4 separate regions of the Homo sapiens genome follow, and regions 1, 2 and 3 are each linked to region 4. Evidence: promoter capture Hi-C in human tissues and cell types (Jung and others, 2019). All regions are on one chromosome and are shown on one strand. Each heading gives the region's core, a stretch centred on a gene start or on the middle of the fragment in contact. The rest is flanking DNA. Distances are from core to core; before and after follow the strand shown. Region 1 has its middle 180 kb from the start of CLEC14A. Region 2 has its middle 110 kb from the start of CLEC14A. Region 3 overlaps LOC124903304 (a long non-coding RNA gene). Region 4 holds the start of SSTR1 (somatostatin receptor 1).

What was found. The method cuts DNA at HindIII sites, captures the fragments that hold promoters and counts their contacts. A contact is called where the count stands out against the background at its distance.
Region 1: a contact is called between a fragment that was not itself captured here and the fragment with the promoter of SSTR1 in region 4, in 4 of the 25 tissues and cell types used here (H1 embryonic stem cells, hippocampus, mesenchymal stem cells and 1 more).
Region 2: a fragment that was not itself captured here is called in contact with the fragment with the promoter of SSTR1 in region 4 in 2 of the 25 tissues and cell types used here (bladder and stomach).
Region 3: a fragment that was not itself captured here is called in contact with the fragment with the promoter of SSTR1 in region 4 in 3 of the 25 tissues and cell types used here (dorsolateral prefrontal cortex, mesenchymal stem cells and mesendoderm cells).

What each region holds. Positions count from the first base shown.
Region 1 is chr14:38,439,295-38,442,724 of GRCh38, forward strand. No RefSeq gene overlaps it. Among named protein-coding and RNA genes, the nearest start is that of CLEC14A, 180 kb to the left of the region's middle. The HindIII fragment of the contact is 5,114 bases long and covers 1-3,430 here.
Region 2 is chr14:38,363,957-38,367,622 of GRCh38, forward strand. No RefSeq gene overlaps it. Among named protein-coding and RNA genes, the nearest start is that of CLEC14A, 110 kb to the left of the region's middle. The HindIII fragment of the contact is 3,278 bases long and covers 249-3,526 here.
Region 3 is chr14:38,382,766-38,386,348 of GRCh38, forward strand. It overlaps LOC124903304 (a long non-coding RNA gene), which reads left to right. Exons shown (of 3, transcript XR_007064118.1): 3 at 2,596-3,583. Among named protein-coding and RNA genes, the nearest start is that of CLEC14A, 130 kb to the left of the region's middle. The HindIII fragment of the contact is 3,104 bases long and covers 1-2,940 here.
Region 4 is chr14:38,206,137-38,209,773 of GRCh38, forward strand. It overlaps SSTR1 (somatostatin receptor 1), which reads left to right and starts at 1,768. Exons shown (of 3, transcript NM_001049.3): 1 at 1,768-1,968; 2 at 2,307-2,473; 3 at 2,910-3,637. The coding sequence starts at 3,254. It overlaps LOC124903303 (a long non-coding RNA gene), which reads right to left and starts at 3,151. Exons shown (of 2, transcript XR_007064117.1): 1 at 2,946-3,151; 2 at 1,079-2,140. RefSeq lists enhancers at 1,570-2,231, 3,215-3,637. The HindIII fragment of the contact is 11,122 bases long and covers 770-3,637 here.

The DNA.
Region 1 (3,430 bases), core at 316-2,815, 230 kb after region 4:
TTTTTTGTAGAGACAGGGTCTCACTATGTTGCCTAGTCTGGTTTCCCACCCCTGAGCCCAAGTCATTCTCCTGTCTCCGCCTCCCAAAATGCTGGGATTACAGGCATAAGCCACCTGGCCCACCAACACATCTTTCTAAATACATATCCATCCTATTGGTTCTATTTCGCTGCGGAACCTTGACTTGTCCACGGGCATTAAAAAGGGCACATAAATTTATATTGCCACCAGCAGCATATCAAAGTCCCCATCTGTCTGCATCGAGGAAAGCCAAAGCTACTTGTTCTTAATTTTCTTTATTTACCAATTTGACACAAAATACTATCACATTGTTTTAATTTCTATATTTATTAGTTAAATATAGATATTGTCATATTCTTAATGATTATTTTTATTTTTTTCACTGAGTTGCCTTTTCATCCTTTTGTGTATTTATATGTATATACTTTGAGTTGTTGTTTGTTTTTTTTTTTTTGAGACGTAGTCTCGCTCTGTCGCCCAGGCTGGAGTGCAGTGGTGAGATCTTGGCTCACGGCAAGCTCCGCCTCCCGGGTTCACGCCATTCTCCTGCCTCAGCCTCCTGAGTAGCTGGGACTACAGGCGCCCGCCACCACGCCAGGCTAATTTTTTTGTATTTTTTTAGTAGAGACGGGGTTTCGCCGTGTTAGCCAGGATGGTCTCCATCTCCTGACCTCGTGATCCACCCGCCTCGGCCTCCCAAAGTGCTGAGATTACAGGCTATATTTATATACTTTTTAAAGAAGCTTTCTAAGTAACAGATATTAATTCCTTGTCATATATGCTGCAAATGTCCTGTTTATTTACTGTTTTTCTTTTAATTCTAGTCAGACTTTATTATTTTATAAGGAAATTTTAAATATTTATGTATACAAATCCAGAATTTCGCTCCTTTATGGCTTCTGGTGTAGTGTTATTCTAAAAAAGTCCCTCCTCAATGCAAGACTATAAATTTCTATGTACATAAACATTCATAACTTTTATTATTTTATTCTCATAGCTGATTCCTTGCTTCATTTGGAATTTATTTTGGTAGAATGTGAGGTAGAGATCTAACGTTTCCCCCTATTACATCATCCATTTTTATTTCATTAATCTGAGATGCTAGAGGCACCAAGCCTCACTGTTAGGCACCACTTATTTTTATTAGGTTTGACCATTAGCAAACATCAGGATATAGGAACAGTGGCCCCTTCCTTCAGCTGGTCTTATATGACCTTAATTTTTGCAGAACTTGTTTAAATCTATATTGATCTGTACTATTTAACCTGGTATAGGATTTAGGGTGAATGAGTCCATGGAGCCCCATTTTATCAAGCTAATCTTAAGTGTCAGAGGTTTAATTCTACTCTATTATTTACTAGGTCAAAATGTTTATGCCCACTATGGGACATTGGGCACGGAACACTGTGATTGTGGGGAATATACGCAACATTTTCAAGGCTAAGGTTGGGTATATTTATTTGTCCTCTATTTTATGGTCAGTAACTCCACTAAGAGTATAGGGGGTACCTGGTTTATATTTTGTGGCATTCCCAGGTACAACTGTAATTTGAGCCCCATTAATTAGGCCATAAATGTTTTCCAATTGGCACATCTCAGCAGACATTAATTTAGTACCTATTTTGTAGAAACACAATAATCAATAGTCATTTTTATCTTTCTTTTCCACAAATTATTTTAGTGAATTTTGATTTCCAGTTGGACCAAATCACAGATCCCTGTTTCAGTGCCTATTTCTTCCCATTGTATAAAGTGTTTTTGTTGTTGTTGTTTTATTTTATGTTTAAAGTTACTGGATATACTACATGGAGAGGGGGAAAGGGGAGTTTTCTCCATTCTGCTCATTTTTGTAAGTCTCATCCTTCAGAGAGTGCTAAATTAGTATCGTGGGGTAGGGACCTCCCACATGGTGAATGTTGTTATGATGGTTTAGGGACTCCGGAATTAAGCTGGGTATGAATTAACCACTTGATATGTTGATAAGCTGCAATACTCAATAGACCCCACAATCTTTGCCCGTTCCTTTTATGGTTATTTAATAGCGTAACAGTGCCCTCTGGACCTATAATGGGGTTGAGTGTAGAGCAGTTAGGGTTGCTTTTCATAAGAGTCTATGCCATAGGAGGTACCATGGGAGTTTTTTCTGTATAATCCTGAGGACCAGGGTCTTTGTAGCAACAGAGGCATGAGTGGCAACAGCAGCAGCAGCAGCAGCAGCAGCAGCAGCAGAGCCATCTTAAGGTTTATAGAGTCTCAGTGAGCTCTCTGAACTTAAGCATGTGGACCTCAGAACACAACATAGTGACTACTCTTCCTCACACTAGCACACAACTAATGGGTCTATATACTGCACAGGGGCTCAACACCTGCTTGAGAAATTCAGCCAATGGTCATTGGGTAAAAGTTGTTTCACGTGTCCAGAGTAAGCTATGACTTATGCTGAAATTGAAATACATGGATAGATCTAAGCCAAACATATGACCCAGGCCCACTTTTAGAAGGAATTCGAATGCCACACTCCTACCCTAAATATCCTGTCAAAATTTTCAACATAATTAGTTAAATCTATACCAGAAACTTAGTAGGATTCAGCAAATGCATCACAGCACAACACAATTCAAAATGCAAGCTTACTGGTAGGCAGTAAAGCAATTCAAAACACAAACTAGCCAGGAGGCAAAAGCTCAATGTACACTGTCACCAGCAGGCAGGAGAACCAGGTAGCAAGCCAAAAACAAGAAAGACCCCCAGGTCTCCTAGTGCCAATTATTTTGTAGTTGCCCTGAAGAGAATGAGATCGACCTCCCACCTAAAATAGGTTCAGATTATCAAGACTGAGGATGACACATGTGCTACAAGAGAGTATTAAAAGGTTCCTTACCTACGTAATGGGACTTTCTGGGGACACCAAAGCAAGCACTAAAGCTGACCTGATATTACTTAAGTGAAGGGACATGCAGGTGGCTTTGGTTTTTATTGTGGTTAGGAGGTAGGACCTAGGTGACATCTTGCACACAGCCAGGGTTTGCATGGCTTGAACTTCTCCAACAGCACCAAGGGAGGGAGTACTCAGGGTTTCTTATCAGTTTGCCCAGATACGGAACAAGAGGCAAAAGGGAAAGGGCAGGGTCTGGAAGCTGTCAGCAGCCAAACATAGAACATGGAGTCAGGTTAGTTATCACAGTGTTTATTTTCATTTTGTTCCATCATTGTTAGATTTTGGCATCCGTGTTACATAAAGCGAGTAAAAACATTTTAGCAGACTTTCCACATTTTTTTCACCTATAGGATAATTTAACTGGTATGTAAATTATCTGTTCCCTGAAAATTTGCTAGGATTTACACTTAAAATCTTATCAGTCATTTTTAGAATTAATTATATGATAATTTAATTTTTCCTATGGTGATT
Region 2 (3,666 bases), core at 638-3,137, 160 kb after region 4:
GAACCCGGGAAGCGGAGCTTGCAGTGAGCCGAGATTGCGCCACTGCAGTCCGCAGTCCGGCCTGGGCGACAGAGCGAGACTCCGTCTCAAAAAAAAAAAAAAAAAAAAAATCTCAGCCATAACCACAAAATCACATTGTCCTGGATTTTTATCTCAAATACCCTTTGTTTTTAATATTACCCAGGCTCTATAGCTGGTATGTAGGTAGCAGATAGTCTAAGTGTTATTTCAGGGTAGTTTTCCAGTTCTTTATCCATATAAGTCATCAGGGACCTACCACAACTCCCTCCTTCCCCTCCTATGATATTTGCTCCTTTTATCAAAGTTTGTTTCGTGGATTCATCTAAGTGTTCTCCCTCATTCCCAGTAAGATTGCAGACCAGCAATCTTGTATGCTTCTCCCCTCAAGGAGTGCTCCCCTCAATTTGGAAAGGGTTCTCTTCTCAATATCTTCAACTGTGTTTCAGTATCCAAATACAGTTTGTTGATAGCATCTGCATCTTTCAAGTCTTTCCCCGCTTGCAGGGTAGAGAGCTGCTCCTTAACTCTCCACCCCGACTCCCTAAACTATCCTTGCTGATTAGGTAAGTCTTGGTTACTAACTAGGAAATGATCATCAATTACCACCGGACTTTAAGTGTACTATATTTATATATCTATATGTATATTCCTATCTTCCAGACTCTGGTGCAAATTTGCAAATTGAGCAGACTATTTTTTATTGGACATTCTAAGCTGCTATACAGCTACTATATATTGAAGCTTTATTTAACTTAAATAGATGAGATAGGTGGAATGAATGATTTTCATTTTACATTTAGGAACCTGAATCATCTTTGAGAAAGCAGGAGAGAAACTTGGCCACAGAGTTAGAGGGAAGGAAGCTATTTTCCTGAATTCCAATTCCATGTTCTTTGGAGATCTTCCTTGATAATCTTTGTCGCCTTTCTCCTCAACTAGAAAGTGCTTAGCGTTACTATCCCTCATGTGAGACATCCTGTGCTCTGACAATGGAAAATGAAAAATCATACTCAAAGATCTATTTTTGTTCACTTCCAAGCAAAGTATAGATAAAGAAGATCCAAAGAGGTGCTTGAATGGAATTTTCAGTTCATGTAAGTGTCCACATTTCTCTCTCCTGACTATTTCAAAAGTGATTGCTAGTTGAATGTGCCTTTGTAGCATGTCAGTATAAACCATTTTGATAGAATTATATGTTTCCTTTTCACCTAAGATCCTCCTTTCCCCTAAACCTTTTGTTCTGTTCTTGTCTCTAATTCTGTCTCTTCATTGGAAGTGATTTACTCAGGATACAAAAGTCACTCTCTGCTTCTTTCCAAATGTCAGTCCTCAGAACTTTCTCACACACTCTTAGAACCATATCAGAAATAAAAAAGACTCTCAAATCAGGCTTTAATTACAATCACTCTTGAGGGCACATCAGCCTCTCAATAACGACTAAGTTCACAGTATTCAAAGAACAACTCAAAGTATAGCATGTCCCAGTGCCCCACATTTTTCAGGCACTAAACGGTCTCATCATTTTTTTAGTTTCTTTTTTTTTAAGCAAGAAATATGCTTCAAAGAATAAATTTACAGACTTCAGTTTTTACACTTGGTTCACTGTTATGTATAATTAACACATTCCTGTTCTCCTCTCCACTTAATTTAGAACAACATTAAATTTCCATGCAGCTCATCAAAAGCATATGTGGATTATTGGAATGTAGTTAGGAAACTCAATCAGTAGGAATTTCATCCAAAAACACCTGGAACCCAGCTTACCAGATACAAGTCTATGAAAACTTGTGAAGGAGACAGTTTAGCATGTTTCCCTCTGGTTTGGTGTGTTGGCTCTTCTCTAAGTATCTTCCTTGCCACCTCATCACCATCCTTGGCTCAGAAGGCCTCCTGGAGATGAGAAGCTTCTCTTACAGGAAGCATGTCTCCCAACACTCACACTGTAAAGTACCACTTTACCAACTAGGTGACTTGGTAAAGCTTGTATGGTATTATATAGCTGTTCTTGCAGTGGCTTCCTGAACATAATGCCTCTCCCTTGCCTTACAGGCCCATTAATAATTCTCCTGGGAGGAATTTTTGTTTAGGAGACAAGAATATCTTTTTCCTAGATGATCATTAAATATTCCTCAGTATAAAAAAAGCCATGTGTTGATAATAATAACAATCATAATATTAATGAATAATAACAATAACAGACATTCATAGGGGACTTATTTTGTTCCAAAACAGTGTCCTAAGTGCTTTCCACATTATTTTAACTTATATCATCATCATAAAACATCTTACTGGTTGAGACTGTTATTATCATCATTCTACAGACAACCTTTTGAAGAGGAGCAGAGATTGCCTTACCACTGACTAAGGAGTGTCTTCCTCCTACTTAGGGTTCGGTAATGACGTGAAAAGCATTTTTAAAAAGACAGTAAATGGAGCATATTTGGGGTATGCATTTTACTATTGCTGGTGCCGATATGTGCTACAGCAAAACCTCTGCCAAGAGAGGATAAAAGGAGTCAGCTCATAGTGGGTGGATACTAGAACTAGACAGAGGTTCAGATTGACATTGTTTAGGGGGATGGGGAGATCTAACAGGAAAAGGAGATGACTCAGAAAGAACTTCCCCAACAGTTTAGGATGCCCCCTAATGATGGGAACATTCTAAGATATCCGCTAGAGAAAAAGTCCAGGAAGGTATGGCATAGATTTCTCATTGCTGCTTCAACATTCATTTACCCTTTCTTTATTAGTAAGAGAGCTCCAATTTTATTTAGGGTGGCAATGTGCCTAGCTAAAATAATGCATTTCCCAGCTTATCTTGAGATTAAAGTGGCCACTTCACTGAGCTATGACCAGTGAGAAGTAAACAAAAGCTATTAGAATGAGAAGACAGACAGCTGGCATGTGTCACTTTGCCCCTTCCTTTTCCACACCCTACCTCCTAGAATGCAGATATGATAGATGAGGCTCCAAACACCATTTTGGACTATTGTGGTGATCCTGCAGATGGAAGCCAAATAATAAGAATGGAAGAGCAGATGGAAGTCAAATAAGAATGGAAGAGCAGAAATAGAGATGGAGGATGAGTCCCTGATGATCATGGGGTCACCATATCTTCCCCAGACTGCACATCTCCAAACTTATTTTATGTGGAATAAAATATATCTTCATAAGTTTAAGCCATTGATATATCTGACATGTTGTTATATGCAGCTGAACATGATTCTTAGCGGATCCACAAAGTTAGCTGAAGGTTTTATGGGCAGCAGAACCTTCCCTTTACAAGGAAAGAAAACTCAAAAGACCCCTCTACCAACAGACAGCAAAGGTCCTGTGGAGAGAGGCCAAATGAAGAGATCCAAGCTAGGAATTTCCCAAGCCCTTGAACAAGACAATCAACCTCCTTGCTTCTCAGTCCTCCCACTGACAAAATAAGAAAGCTAAATGTGATTATTAAGTCTCCACTCCAGGTAGAAAATTCTGCAATTTTACAATTATGAGCGAATAAGACACACCAGTGTTGCTAAAAACCTGCTGAAAGGCTATTAGAGTAAAGGTGCTATTTTCTCCTGTAGGGAGAGGTAACTTAATCAGATTTGACTGAAACCCAGTCCGAGGCTGTCTGGCCACTTGGCACAGGGTTGC
Region 3 (3,583 bases), core at 139-2,638, 180 kb after region 4:
GAAAAAAGTGCTTTTAAAACCATAGAGGTAGCTCCTTTTATGTTTTTGAAGCTAAGACTAATTTGATAGACATCTATCAATGTTGAGCTTTTATGTCTTTAGGTTGGTTTCATAAGTTTTTTGAAATTGAATACTTCAATTTTGTCTGTAAAAATATATTGAGAATTATTTGGAGTGCCTATTGATGGAAAGATACCAGATATTTTTATTAAGTATCTATACATTAATGTATTCCCCTGAGATTGTATTTTATCTTGTGAAATGCAAAGCTGGTTAAACCCCCACAAAAATAATCTAGATTTTTTCCATAAATGAAATGAGTACACTTTTAGCTAAAGGGGAAACAGACATTGTATAATTTCCAGGAATTCTATAGAAAGAGTAGACTTACAATAGTTTACTAAAACAACAATGTGAAAGAGACATGCAAATTGCACTCAAATCCTTTCATGCTGAATAGTAACTGGTGACAGTAACCCTGGAGATAGAGACACTGGGTCAATCTGAATAGTGGAAGGGCTATGAATGTGTAGGAAGATGTGTCTAACACATAGCTGAAAGTAGTACAATAGGGGAGTGGCATCATAATTGTAAGGTCATATTTATTGTAATAATAAAAATTGTAAGGTCCTTAAATTCCATTCTGAGTAGGAGGCATTAGATGAAGGCACCTTGTGATCCACATGATTCCAGTATCTAATTCTGTATTTGCAACCAAAGTTTATAATGGGTTATATGGGTTTTCTGTTTGCAAAGCTTTTAGCTGATTCCTATCAGCGACCTAGTCCTGGGTAACCCGCTGCCTCAAGACATTTAGAAGGCCTTGAAGACTGTGTCTCTTCTAACCCTCACCTAATTTCACAGACCTAGAGGAAATGCAGATCCTTAGTTTACAATAAGAACCAAGATTAAGGTCGTCTGAGAAGAGCTCAACCTTCTGGAGATTTTGGTAGTAGAATTAAATGCTTTGGTTTTAACTATAAAAGATAAACTTTTGAGTTCTAGAATTTATTAGATTGTCTACTCCAAGATAAGAACAATCACAATAGCTACTTATATTTTCACAACATTTTATGGCTTAAGAAGCTTTTTTAAATTCATTATTTTATTTAATCAAATTTTTACAACATAGAGGGGAAAGCCCAGGATTCAGGGTTGTTCACATGTGTGAGCCTCGTTTCCTCACCCGTGCTAGGGGTAATCACAGGAAGTCTACTTATCTCAAGGGTCAGTTGTGAATGTCAAAGAATACAGTGTTATATAAAAACAATTTTAATTCCATTGTTAGATGTTATTTTATAATAGATTCTATTAAACCACAACCTCTGAATTAATTATCTTGCACTTTTTGATGGTGGTTGATGCTGAGAATGGCTTCTTCGCTCTTACATTGCAACTGTCAAAGCCTTTAAAAACAATGACTTAATTATTTTATTACATTGACAGAATAAAATTCGTACAGTCATTTTATCTATGAAGACTGAGAATTTATTTAATGATTACCTTGGAATATATCTATTCATTAGTGGTGGAAAAAGATGAAACGTTGCCAGCAGACAAAGATAGTTATTTCTTCTTTCTAGAGATGTGAAAATAACAATTACTACTTACTGAGTCCCTACTTAGTGCCAAACACTGCTCTAGGTGTTTTGTATATTTCATCTTTTGATCCTTACACAATGGCATGTGTGTTACTGCTCATTGCCACTTAGCAGAGATTTACTCAATTAGGACATGATGAAGCTGGGATTTGAGCCCAGAGATGTTCAACTTTAAAGACACTTGCTCTTTCTAATCAATATTTTATTACATAAACATTAACTTGCTCAATTATAAAGTGTTCTTGTATCTGAATGAATGGAGGTCTGGTAGGACTAAATGGAATATATATATATCTAGGCATGTTGGAATGGCTGTTAGAAAGCAATGTTAGAACGGACACCTCTGCATGGGCTGCAATTATATTTGACTTTCTCTCAACTTCTTTATTCAGTCCTTCCCCTCTCATGTGCTTCCTAAGAGCTCTCTCATACTAATATATCAAGAAGAGGACTAAAGAGACTATTCATCAAAATACGTCTTAGGGAAACCATTATTTGTGTTAGGAAGAAATACTTTGAGAAGTTATTAGAGGATAAAGCTCCAAGGGTGGGAAACTGTTGCAAACATGGATTGCTAACATACCATGCATAAGTCAAAAAGAGGAAATTTGCCAACTTCCACATTATGTAGTCCTCTGACATTCATAGTACTCAGTAATAAGAAGAAATGAAGTAGCAGTATATGCTACAACATTGGTGTTTCTTAAAAACATTAGGCTAAGTGAAAGAAGCCAGTCACAACAGACCCCAGAAAGCCAATCTATAAAGATGGAAAATACATTAGTGGTTTCCTGGGGCTGGAGTGAGAACAGGGAATGATTGCAAATGGTCACCAGGGATCTTTTTGGAATAGTATAAATGTTTTAAAATTGGACTTTGGAAATGGTCACATGACTCTGTAAGCTTACACAACCATTGGATATTCACTTAAAAATGGGTGAATTGTATAGTGTGCAAATTATGCCTCAATAAATATGTTTTTTTTTTTAAAAAGGTGCTGCACAGTAGTCGTGTTTGCAATGCTACCACTCATGGAAAACAGCAGAGTACCTCTCGAAGCACACCCAAGAAATCGACAGCAGAGGTTGCCTCTGAGGAGGGAAATGGGGCACAGGAGCTGAGAAGAGGAGGAGAGTTCCTCTGAATGTATAATGTTTGGTGCTCTTTGAATTTTACACTATGTGCATGTAACCACTATTCAAAAATAACATTAAACCCTTTACATATTTTAGTTACTAGGAGATACTTGGCTGCTGTTCATAGTGAGGAGGTCATTAATGGTAATGGGGTCAGAAGAAACGACGGTCTAAGGGGAAAATGCTGCATTATCTATTTTCAGAAATGATCATTTTGATCTATTATTCAGAATAATATTGATTTGAACAGCAATACCCTATAACCAAGGGACCTGAAGGGAACAGTATGCAGAGCCTAAGATAAAGAAACCTGTATATTTTGTTGTGGTGAGAGTGCTGAAAGTGGAGAGTGGAAAGTCTGAGCCTTTACGTTTTTGATGCCAGAGTAATCATTCAGAAGGCTTTTGAAGAGTAACGTATTGACTACACTCTGTTACATTTCAGTCATTTTGCTATCATCCTTTTTTCCAGTACATGCCATAGAATGTAGCAATTCAAGAGCAAACTGTTGGAAAACATGCTCAACTCATCTTCCTCAGCTTGTTATTTCTTCAAATTATCTAATTCACTGTGCTTTTTGGATTTCTTTTTGCTATAGATGGTTTTCCATACAAGTGAAATTGCTAAATAATTGTCAAGCTTCTGCTCCACTTAGAAAATATTCACCAGTTATAACAGATTACATCCTAGTACTCTTAATTCCATAATAATGTATATCTTTGGAATCTTGACGATTTTCAACTCTTAATCCATAGCTCAAGTCTTCTGTCTGATGTTGAATGCAGTGATCTTCCAAGCAAATGACAGTATTTGAACCTTCCCTTAAAATGGTAGTAATAAAATTCC
Region 4 (3,637 bases), core at 518-3,017:
CTAACGTACCTTGTCTGTATGTATTGCCTGCCCTGGGCATGTCATATAAATGGAATCATGCCACACGTGGCCTTTTGTGTCTGGCTTCTTTCCCTTTGCATAGTGTTTTCAAGCTTCGTCTACGCTGAAGCAGGTATTAGTACTTCATTTCTTTTTATGGTTGAATACTATTCCATTGTATGGATATACCACAATTTATTAATTCAGCAATTGATGGATATTTGGATTGTTTCTAATTTTTGGCTATTATGAATAGTGCTGCTATGAATGTTCATGCACAAGTTTTTGATTAAACACCTGTTTTCAATTTTGAGGAGTAAATAGAAGTGGAATTGCTGGCTCATATGGTCATTCTTTTAAACTTTTAAACTTTTTAAGCAATTGCCAAAATTTTTTTCTGAAGTTGCTGCATCATTTTTTATTCCCACCAGCAATGTATGAGTGTTCTAATTTCTCCACATTCTCACTAACGTTTATTTTTTGTTTTTAAAAATGTTCTTATAGCCATCCTAGTGGGTGAAAAGTGGCATCTCAAAAAAATAAAAATAAAAAGCATTCTCACGTCAGGTCTTAAGTTTTCTTCTTTTGTATATGAGGCCACAAAATTGAGAGAAATTTTCCCTAAGATGAGCTGAAAGTGAATTTAATGAAATTCTGAACAACAGAGCTGTTTTTCACTGACTCCCATCACACACTTCCCAAAGAGCAACCATGATCAAAGCCAAGGCATCTAAATAATGACTGTTGAAATCCAAGCTCCCAGAGGTACAGATAGTCAGGTGTCTTTAGTCAGTGATTGGCAGAGGCATCTAAGGCATTATATGAGGCTTGGCTAGTAAAATGCTCTTCTGGGATTCTGGGACAATACCCACTCTCTTTTCTTTTAACTTAATGAACATTTATTTTCTCTCCATATGTGCTGTATTTGTAAAGGAAAAATAAATATAACTAAACACCAATTGTACATTCCACTTTAAAGAAGGCAATTTGTTCAGGTAAAATAATGGGTTAAAACAGTTTCAGCCGTATGAAATTTCAAATTCCATCCTAGCACATTCCTCATTAATAATTGCACACATTCCTATGAAAGTCTGTCATTTATTTTAGTCTTTGATTGCTATCATCAACACACTACAGAAGTTATTCTTTCCTGTTCAAGACAATTAGTTTTGGGAACTAAAACACATGCAGTATATGTAAGTGATTACCTGGATAAAGCAACAGGGCATTAGGAAATATACTTTTTTGTTTTTAATTTCTGCATCCATTTCTTCATTCTGGACCGGTACAGATAGCCTCCATGAGGAGTTTAGCCTCTCCTTGGAGTAAACTCTACTGAGAGGAGGAAAACTGAGACTTACAGTACAGCGGGCACAGCCTGGTTGAGGAGAAGGAGAAACTAAGGAAAAACTGGAGACAGCAAAGCTTGAAGGAGGCAGAGCACTAAGCTGCTGCGGGTCACTCTTCCTGTGAACAGGCTAGTTTCAAATAAAGGCTTGCAGGGATCTTACCGAGCAAAGCAACGTTTATGAAAAGGAACAGGGAAGTTGCATGGAGTGTGATTCTTCCTTCCACAGGAACAGTTGGAAAGCCAAAGAGACCCTAGAGTAAGAATGGTGGTAAGTCCCAGGGTTCGTTTAAAATCCTGATAACGGAACATACATTCTTTCTTACGGGAAAACCGTTTTGATTCTTAAATGAAGTCAGTGAGCTTCAGGCTTGCCTACATTGATATCTCCTAATGGTTTGGGCACGTGACCCAGAGCCAGCTCACAAATCAAGCCTCAGAAAGAGCTGACATCCTAGCTCTTCCCGGAAAAACTCGAATGTCGCCCTGCCGTTCCTGGGGTTGGTGACAGGTCTGGTCATCGCACGGCGGCAGCTCCTCACCTGGATTTAGAAGAGCTGGCGTCCCCGCCCGCCCAAGCCTTTAAACTCTCGTCTGCCAGAACCCGCCAACTCTCCAGGGTACAAAGTACAGCAGGGACGCGGGTGGAGCCCTTCCAAGCGGCGCAGCCTTATCTTTCCCGAGTGAACACCTAGGTGGATTCCCAACACCGCGCCTGGCACGTTTCTGGAGGGAGTCTCAAGCTCCTCCAGAGCTCCCAGCTGCGCGTCCTCGTTTCTGCAGTCGATATTCCTGTGGGAGACACGGGGGGCTCTGAGCGCTACGAGCTTTATTAAGAGATTTGCGAATGGTTCACTCAGGTCCCTGAACACTCCCAATAGCCTAAGCTGCCTGCTGTGTTATAGCGCAGAAGCCCCTAACGCACGGTGGTTGTCCTTTCTTCTCATAACGCTCGCAGCTTAGGGCCAGTTTCCGCGATTCTAAGAGTAATTGCGTGGGCACCTGTGCTGGGGCCAGGCGCAAAGAAGGGAGTTGGTCTGCGCGAAGATCGTCAACCTGCTAACAGACCGCACATGCACTTTGCACCGACCATCTACGTCTCAGTCTGGAGGTTGCGCACTTTGGGTAAGGAGGGCCCGGAACTTCCCTGGCGGGTCTGAGCTGCAAGGCAAGCGAGGGTGGGAAGAGGGAATTTAGGGTTCTGGACTGCGGGACGGGAGAGAAGCTGGGGTCTCCAGAGAAAAGGGCAGCAATGGAGGGAAACTGAGATGAACTCCAGACATCCATGTTCATGGATCCGTTTGAGTCTTTGCTTTGGGTAGGAGAGGAGTGGAATGAGACAGAATCTATACCTTTGGTTCCCACCCGCCCTCCAGTAAGGCCGAGGAACTCTCTTGGTTCCTCTGAGAGCAAGAGGCAGATGGTGCTGCGAGGGAACCCCGGAAGGAGCCACTAAAGTTGAGCAGAGTGCAGGACTGGGAAGGAAAAAAATGGGGGGCGGGGGGGACAAGCCACCTATGTGCTCTCCTCCCTTTCTCCACCCCACCCCCTTTTTTCGTAGCTGCTGACGCGCTGGTGGTGCCTATTAATCATTTACCAGTCCAGAGCCGCGCCAGTTAATGGCTGTGCCGTGCGGTGCTCCCACATCCTGGCCTCTCCTCTCCACGGTCGCCTGTGCCCGGGCACCCCGGAGCTGCAAACTGCAGAGCCCAGGCAACCGCTGGGCTGTGCGCCCCGCCGGCGCCGGTAGGAGCCGCGCTCCCCGCAGCGGTTGCGCTCTACCCGGAGGCGCTGGGCGGCTGTGGGCTGCAGGCAAGCGGTCGGGTGGGGAGGGAGGGCGCAGGCGGCGGGTGCGCGAGGAGAAAGCCCCAGCCCTGGCAGCCCCACTGGCCCCCCTCAGCTGGGATGTTCCCCAATGGCACCGCCTCCTCTCCTTCCTCCTCTCCTAGCCCCAGCCCGGGCAGCTGCGGCGAAGGCGGCGGCAGCAGGGGCCCCGGGGCCGGCGCTGCGGACGGCATGGAGGAGCCAGGGCGAAATGCGTCCCAGAACGGGACCTTGAGCGAGGGCCAGGGCAGCGCCATCCTGATCTCTTTCATCTACTCCGTGGTGTGCCTGGTGGGGCTGTGTGGGAACTCTATGGTCATCTACGTGATCCTGCGCTATGCCAAGATGAAGACGGCCACCAACATCTACATCCTAAATCTGGCCATTGCTGATGAGCTGCTCATGCTCAGCGTGCCCTTCCTAGTCACCTCCACGTTGTTGCGCCACTGGCCCTTCGGTGCGCTG